2 separate regions of the Homo sapiens genome follow, and region 1 is linked to region 2. Evidence: promoter capture Hi-C in 16 types of primary human blood cells and fetal thymus (Javierre and others, 2016). All regions are on one chromosome and are shown on one strand. The core of a region is centred on a gene start or on the middle of the fragment in contact, and the rest is flanking DNA. Distances in the headings are between cores, read along the strand shown.

What was found. The method cuts DNA at HindIII sites, captures the fragments that hold promoters and counts their contacts. A CHiCAGO score of 5 or more calls a contact.
Region 1: a contact is called between a fragment that was not itself captured here and the fragment with the promoter of CARMIL3 in region 2, in 1 of 17 cell types (erythroblasts). The highest score is 5.4, in erythroblasts.

What each region holds. Positions count from the first base shown.
Region 1 is chr14:23,605,256-23,608,747 of GRCh38, reverse strand. No RefSeq gene overlaps it. Among named protein-coding and RNA genes, the nearest start is that of JPH4, 28 kb to the right of the region's middle. RefSeq lists an enhancer at 2,350-2,559. The HindIII fragment of the contact is 2,995 bases long and covers 291-3,285 here.
Region 2 is chr14:24,050,002-24,053,531 of GRCh38, reverse strand. CARMIL3 (capping protein regulator and myosin 1 linker 3) reads right to left here and starts at 1,523. Exons shown (of 40, transcript NM_138360.4): 1 at 1,339-1,523. The coding sequence starts at 1,378. It also overlaps the pseudogene DHRS4L1. RefSeq lists an enhancer at 166-865 and silencers at 881-1,050, 1,071-1,160, 1,431-1,730. The HindIII fragment of the contact is 12,786 bases long and covers 1-3,530 here.

The DNA of each region.
Region 1 (3,492 bases), core at 539-3,038, 450 kb after region 2:
AGATACTTGTAAGTTGTGCTGTTTGCCTGTTGCCTCTTGGGCCCATGCCACCCTCCCCTGTGGTGTGAGGGCCAAGGGACTGCCAACAGCCTTTCCCAGACTCTCTCTTGCCAGCTGGCTTCCTATTCAATTCTGCTACTAAGAGGCACTGAGACGTGGCTGAAGGACATAGGGTGAGAGAAGGGTTTTCCTCCTGTTTCCAGCTCCTGTCAATGTCCCTCCAGGAGGACTCTAGCCTAGGGCTTAGCAAACTTTTTCTGTAAAGAGCTGGACATGAAGTAGTTTAAGCTTTGCAGGCCATATGGTCTCTGTTATAACTCCTCAACTCTGCCATTGTACTGCAAGAGCAGACATAAACAATATATAAATGAATAAGGATGACCACATTGCAATAAAACTTTATTCATGGACACTGGAGTTTGAGTGTTTTATAATTTTCATGTGCCATGAGATATATCTTCCTTTTCGGTTTTATTTTCAGCCATTTTTAAAATATGAAGAATATTCTTTTTTTGTTTGCTTGTTTTTTGAGATGAACTCTTGCTCTGTCACCCAGTCTGGAGTGGAGTGGCGCAATCTCGTCTCACTGCAACCTCTGCCTCCCGGGTTCAAGCAACTCTCCTGCCTCAGCTTCCCAAGTAGCTGGGACTACAAGTGTGCACCACCATGACTGGCTAATTTTTTTTTTTTTTTGTATTTTTAGTAGAAACAGGATTTTGCCACATTGGCCAGACCGGTCTCGAATTCCTGACCTCAGACCATCCACCCGCCTCGGCCTCCCAAAGTGCTGGGATTACAGGCGTGAGCCCCGTGCCTGGCCAAAATGTGAAGAACATTCTTAGCTCGTGGGCCATGGAGAAACAGGTGGCAGCTGGATTTGGCCTATGGGCAATAGGTTGCCCGTGCTAGCTCCCAATTCTTCAGACACTCCTGGCAGCAGGTGAACTGCACCTCCTGGAGATACCAGCGCCCCAGAGGCTCAACCCCATCACAATGCATCCTCATTCTGTGGTCTGAACATGGGCCAGGCAAGGCTGAGCCTGGAGGCTCTGGTGGCCCCACTTCTTCTCTTCTGTCCCTCCAGCCCTGAGAAGGAACTCCTGTAGTTACCATATCTGGTCACTGCAGCATCTCCATTTGCCCTTCCAACCCTCCAACACTGGAGTAGTCAATTCCCTGAATACATCCCTTCTGTAAGAAATGCCTTGCATGGAATCGTTTTCCTGCTTGGACTCTGACTGACACAGAAATCCTTCCATTTTAGGGAGGGGAAGAAGAAAAGGAAGCCAAAAGGGAGAAGTCAAAGACTGAAGAGGCAAATTAGGAGTGTCCCCACACTGAAGGGAAAAGAAGCTCAGGAAGAAGGTCCTGGGGAGCAGCAGTTGCCACTGCTGAGAGGTGAAGAGGATGCCTGCGAAGAGGGTGATGAGCTGAGGAACTTCCAGAAGTCATCCTCAGGGGGTGGCAGGGGCCCGGGAGCTGGAGGCAGACAAGACACAGCCTCCTCTTGTGAGAGTTTGTGAGAGGCAGGGTCTGAGGCAGTCCCTTGTGATGCAGGAGAGAAGCATGGAGATGGCTCTGCCCGTGTCAGGACTGTCAATCCTCCCAGTTGGCAAACACATGGAACCCGGGGGTAGCCACCTTCCCTCCTGACTCTCTCCCTCCCTACACTGCACTTTCCTGGCCCTGCCTCTGATTACAGAACACACCTGGGCACTGGCTGAAGTTCCCTGCTCCTGCAGATATTCTTGTGGGTAAGCAAGCACAGGTGAATTACCAGGGATGCCCCTCCAAGAGCTGTCTTGTGAGCACAGAGGATTGTGGGTGTTTTAAACGTCTTCATGACATTAATTAATCCAGCAAATATTTATTCACCACCACCTGTGTGCTAGGCACTACTCTAGGTGGTATTGATACAGCAGTGAGTTAAAAAAATGCCTTCAAGGTGCTTATATTCTTGTGGGAGAGACAGGTAATAAACAAGTAGACATAAAAATGGCAGGTGCTGAGAAGTGCTCTGAAGAAAAATACAACAAGGTGAGGGGGACAGGGAGTGCAGGATGTGAGTGATTTTTTTCTCTGGCCCATATCAGGATGGCCTCTCTGAAGAGTTGACAAGTGAGCAGAGGCTTAAATAAGTGAGAGTGAAGAATGTTCCAGGCAGTGGGAAAAACCAAGGCAGAAGCAGGAGGTAGGAGAGTGTTTGGCATAGTTCGAGGGACAGCAAGGAGGCTTAGTGTACCTGGAGTAAATAGGCTGAAAGAGAGGGATAGGAACTAACTCAGAGAGGGTTAGGCTTTGAGTCACGATGAGGACTTAGCTGTTACTCTGAGCAGTGGGTTTGAACACAGAAGTGACACATCTAATTTTCATGTAAAAGATTGACCATGACAACTATGGGGAGAAGAAACTGCAAGATGACCCCTCCATTCTCAGAATGATGTTACTCTTCTAAAAATAGAGCTAGAAAGTCATATCCCACAAGTGTAGGTTGGTGCTCAAGTGGCTGAGTACAAGAATAATAGAAGAAAAGCTGTGAGTCAGAGTTGGCCACAACCTAAACATGAATTAGGAGTGTCATGCCACGGGGAAAACTCAAAAGGCAGACAACCCTGGGATGTGTTGGTATAGCCATGGGACACGCAAAGACTGGGACACTGACTTTGTGCGTGTTCAGCATAAGTGGGCTTCCTGCCATGCCTTCTGTTTGCAATGCTTCCCACCTGTCCCACAGTCTAGGCTGTACACAGGCCTGTCTCCCTCCACAAGCACTTCCTCCCAGTGTTTTTCCTTCCGTCTGTGTCTTTTGTGCTGTCATTCGGTCAGCAACTACCATGTATAAAACTTAATGAGCAGTGCCATGGGAGAGTCTCTGATAAGTGCTTGGAGCTCAAATCCTTTGTTAATTGTATCTAGACAGCTATGTCTGCTGTTGGCACAAATCTCTCTTGTTGGCCCCTTCAAGTTTATCCTCTAACTGTGGGCTTTTCTCCACCTCTTATAATTGTACTCTTGGTGGATTTTCCTATTTATGAAGCTCTATTGGAATATATGCCCTGCCAGAGAAAAGATCTTCTCTACTGTCAAGAATCACTGGTTTCAGTTGGGTCAGGACTGACAACCTAGCCTCTGTGTGTAGACAAGTGAAGACAATCAGGGCTAGGGTTGGCAGAATTGTGCAGGGAGTCGATATGTCATCTTCAACACCTGTACATTCACCTCTAAGCAGGGCCCTTTTTTTCTGGCAAGCTAAGGCCCTATGTGAATCAATGCAAGGCTTAAGCTTGAAGTACCTATAGCCAATCCCTGTCCCCTTTCCTGACAGGTAATGGCATCCAGAAAGAATGAAACCTTGAAGCAGAAGACATTGGGTGGCTGAGTCAGGGTGTGGGACTTGAGCCAGTTTCCACTCTGCAAAGATCGGGAAACAAGCACCCTCTCCATCTTCCCCAGCCTGGAGATGCCAGCCATGAGGACTCAAAGGGGTCTCTG
Region 2 (3,530 bases), core at 274-2,773:
CTTTTTTGACTTTTCTCTTCCTATTAGAGAGGGAGTAGGGTGTGGAGAAAACTCCGGCTCCTGATGTCCCTGAGTCAGGGGACGGTTGCTGACTGTCTGTGGGAGGGTGTGTCTCACACTTCTGAGGGTGTGAAGAATTTTTCCAACCCATGCACTACAACAGCCATTGACACATACAAAGTGAGTCACTGTGTGGGGGTGTGGGGTGTCCCTTTGACTATATTCTAGGTGGTCCGGGTGTGAGTGTCTGCCTTTACTATGAGAGTGTGCATGCCTCCTGGAGATGTCAGGGAGCCTGAGTGTGGCATTGGTGGGGACAGGTAAGTGTGAATGAGTATGCTGTGGAAGGGGCACAGAGCCAGACACTTCCTCTGTGTGTGTTGGGCGGGGAGAAGAATTAATGTTTAAATGAGCCCCATACCCATCTGCTGGCAGAACCACCCAGATATAGTGTGTGTGTGTGTGTGTGCACGCGCGTGTGCTGGGGTGCCATCTCTGTGAAGATGTGTTTACACACGTCTAATGATTGTGCTGTGTGTGTGTGCAGGTGTGGGAGATTGCCACGGCGCAGCATGCCTCTGAGTATCCACGAGCATCCTGCGCTTTGCGTGGGCTAGCCTGTGCTCCCGTCTCTGGGGGTCAGGGTTGTGGCAGTGCTGGGTGGCCGGGCCTGGGTTTGGGCTAGGTCTGAGAACCATGCAAACGGGAGAAGCCTTGATGTGTGGGTGGTGGGTAGCGAGAAGGAAGCAGGCTGGGACGGGGCTGTGGGAGGCGAGCCTCAGAGACCCTCCTGCTCTTGGTTTTAGCTCCAATCCAGGGCCTCTTCCCTGACTCCTTTCTTTGCCCCACTGGCCTGGGCGCTGCCCAGCTCCTAAGGGGCTCTTCAGGGCCAGTTCCGGGGCGGGGCCGGGAGGAGGGAGGGTGTTAAGCCACGCAGCGGTCAGGACCAGGGGCAGCTCCCATCGCAGGGAGGGGCGGGCTTGGCCCCGCCCGGCGGGGAAGCGGGGACTCTCCGGATGGGAGACTGGACGCTTCGCCGAGGGTGGGCTAGGAACGCCGAGAGTCAGCCCCAGGGAGCGCCAGGGAACTGCACCTGTCACCGAAGGGCGGGACGGGCGGCTCCGGGACAGGAAGGTCCCGACCGGGTGAGGCGAGGCAGGCAGCGGAGGATGCTCCGGGGACAGCGATGCCCGGACTGGAATGCAGGGGCTGCCTTGGAGCCAGGATGCATGGGGTGAGGGGTGTGAGACACCGGGCTGGGATGCACCACGGGGAGGAACGCGCTGGGTCTGGGATGCTCCCGGACGGGGCGTCCCAGAGACCGAGGCAGCCTCGTACCTTGCAACTCGCGGGTGAGCTCCACGCTGGGCTTGGCCATGGCGGCCGCTGCTGCTGAGGCTGCTGCAGAGGAGCCGCCGCCGCCGCCGGGGAGCCGCGGCACATGCTAGACCCGGCTTCAGCAGGGCCCGGGCGCTGAGCGCTGCAGCAGCGGCCGAGCCCGCTCCGGTCAGGGGCGGCTGCTTGAGCGCTCCTCCCCCCGCCTCGGAGCGCCGGCTCCCCCGCCCAGCAGGGAGAGCTGCCGGACTGAGCATGCGCTCCGCGCTGCCGAGCCGCGTGAGACCCCGCGCGCGCTCGCGCCGACCCTTCTCGCTGGCTCCCGCGTGAGCTGGCCGGTGTGCGTCGCCCGGTGTCCGGGCCTTCGGGGCGGGGGGCAGCGTCCCCGCTTTCCATCTACTCAATCCTCGGGCCCGTGGGCAGAAGCCATTTCTTTTGTTTGTGGGCCCGGGCACCTTGCAGGGCCTTTCTCTATTCCCCACCGGCTCAGGACCCCTCCAGCTTGTCCTTGCTGACTCGGGACCTAGGGCCATGCTGGGAGAGGGCATGGCTGGATCTGGGAGGCGAGGGGCGGGGAGGTGTTAGAGAGTTCCTCCTTCCCCACCCTCGCCCGACTCGCCCTGCCTCGGGGATCCCCGTGGCGTCCTGGGAGTTCCTGTCCCACCTTCCTTCCAGTTGGCAGCTCTGCAGACACCTCCACCCCTGAACATCACGCTCAGGTCCTGGAGACAGGGAGGAGGGCTGGGGGATCCAGAGATCCAGCCTGGCCAGACTTCTGCTCTCTGCTCAGCTAAGCACCCCGCACTGAGAAAACGTCGATTCGATTCAAAGCCGCGCAATCATCTGCATTTTATTTGCACCTCATTTGCAAGTTGTTAATTTGCAACTCTGCTCCTTCCACTCCAGCTTCCTTCTCTCTCATCTCCCCTCAAATTCCCCAGTGGCCTGGGCAAAAAATATCTTGGTCTTTGCCAAGGTAGACTCAGCCTTGTCAGCAGGCCTGTCCTGTGTTCTCAGGGGAGGCCTTTACCCAAGGCCACAACAACAGCAGGAATCCCGAGTAAGACACCACCTTGACGGCAGGGAAGGCTGGATCTTTTCACAGGGCAGAACTGATTTGATGAGGTGAACAGTAAGGTGAGCAGAGGTGGGAAAGGCCAGTGGGTGAATGCAGGAACAGCACCAGGAGCTAGAGCCCAACTCTGGCCTGTGGGCTGTCTCCGGGTCCTCAGAGGCGGGACGGGGTTCCTCCACCCACCATCACTGTTTCCCCAGTGAGGTAGCTGGCATCTTCAGAGCACAGGAAAGACACGATGCCAAGAGAATCCTCTGGCTCGCCTAACCTGGGGAATAGGGGAAGCAAGGAAGGGAGTAAAAATCAAACAGGTCTGCCTCCCTCACCTGGGACACGGGGAATGAAATTTGCTTAATCAAGAATTATCAGATAACTTTTCAGGATCAGTGTACAAACTTTCCGCCTATCAAATAGGGTTACCATGAGGATATGCTGTTATAATTTAGTATAAGCATACTGTACTCTGCAAAAACCATTACCCATAATATTCAAATACTATAGAGACACTGTTTTTTAGAGAGCTCAGGACACCAAAATCCAAAGTTATACAGGTAAAATAGTAATTATTTCATACTTCAAAAAAATGGTTTCACATGTGCACACACTAAAGTATCAGGGAGTCTGTGTGACAGTAAATGGTGTGTTTAAAATGATTCCATTTGTACAGGTTCAACTTAGAGACAATTTTTTCAGGAATCTATACTTGTCCCTTAAAGTCAGGATCATTTGGTGAGAATGTGCTAATTCTTATTTTATCAGTGACTGCATAGTTAGGAGACACTTTAATCTGCCTGCCATAGAATGCTCTAGAGGTGGGCAGAGTAACTCAAACCTAGAAGGGCTGAATTAATGCTTCTCCATTCTAGCTGTACCTTGCAATCATTTGAGAGGCTTAAACAAAAAAAGAAAAGAAAAGACAAAGAAAAACAAAACCCTAGATGGTCAAGTCCTACCTTGGACCAATTAAAAAAGAATCTTTGGGAGTGGGTGGGGCCTGAGCACCTGCAGTTTAAAAAGCTCCCCAGGTGATTCTAATGTGCATCCAGTATTGAGCTACATGGGCTAGATCATTCACTGGAGCTCTAGGTTGACAATCCCCTGACTTATTAATGAGTTATGA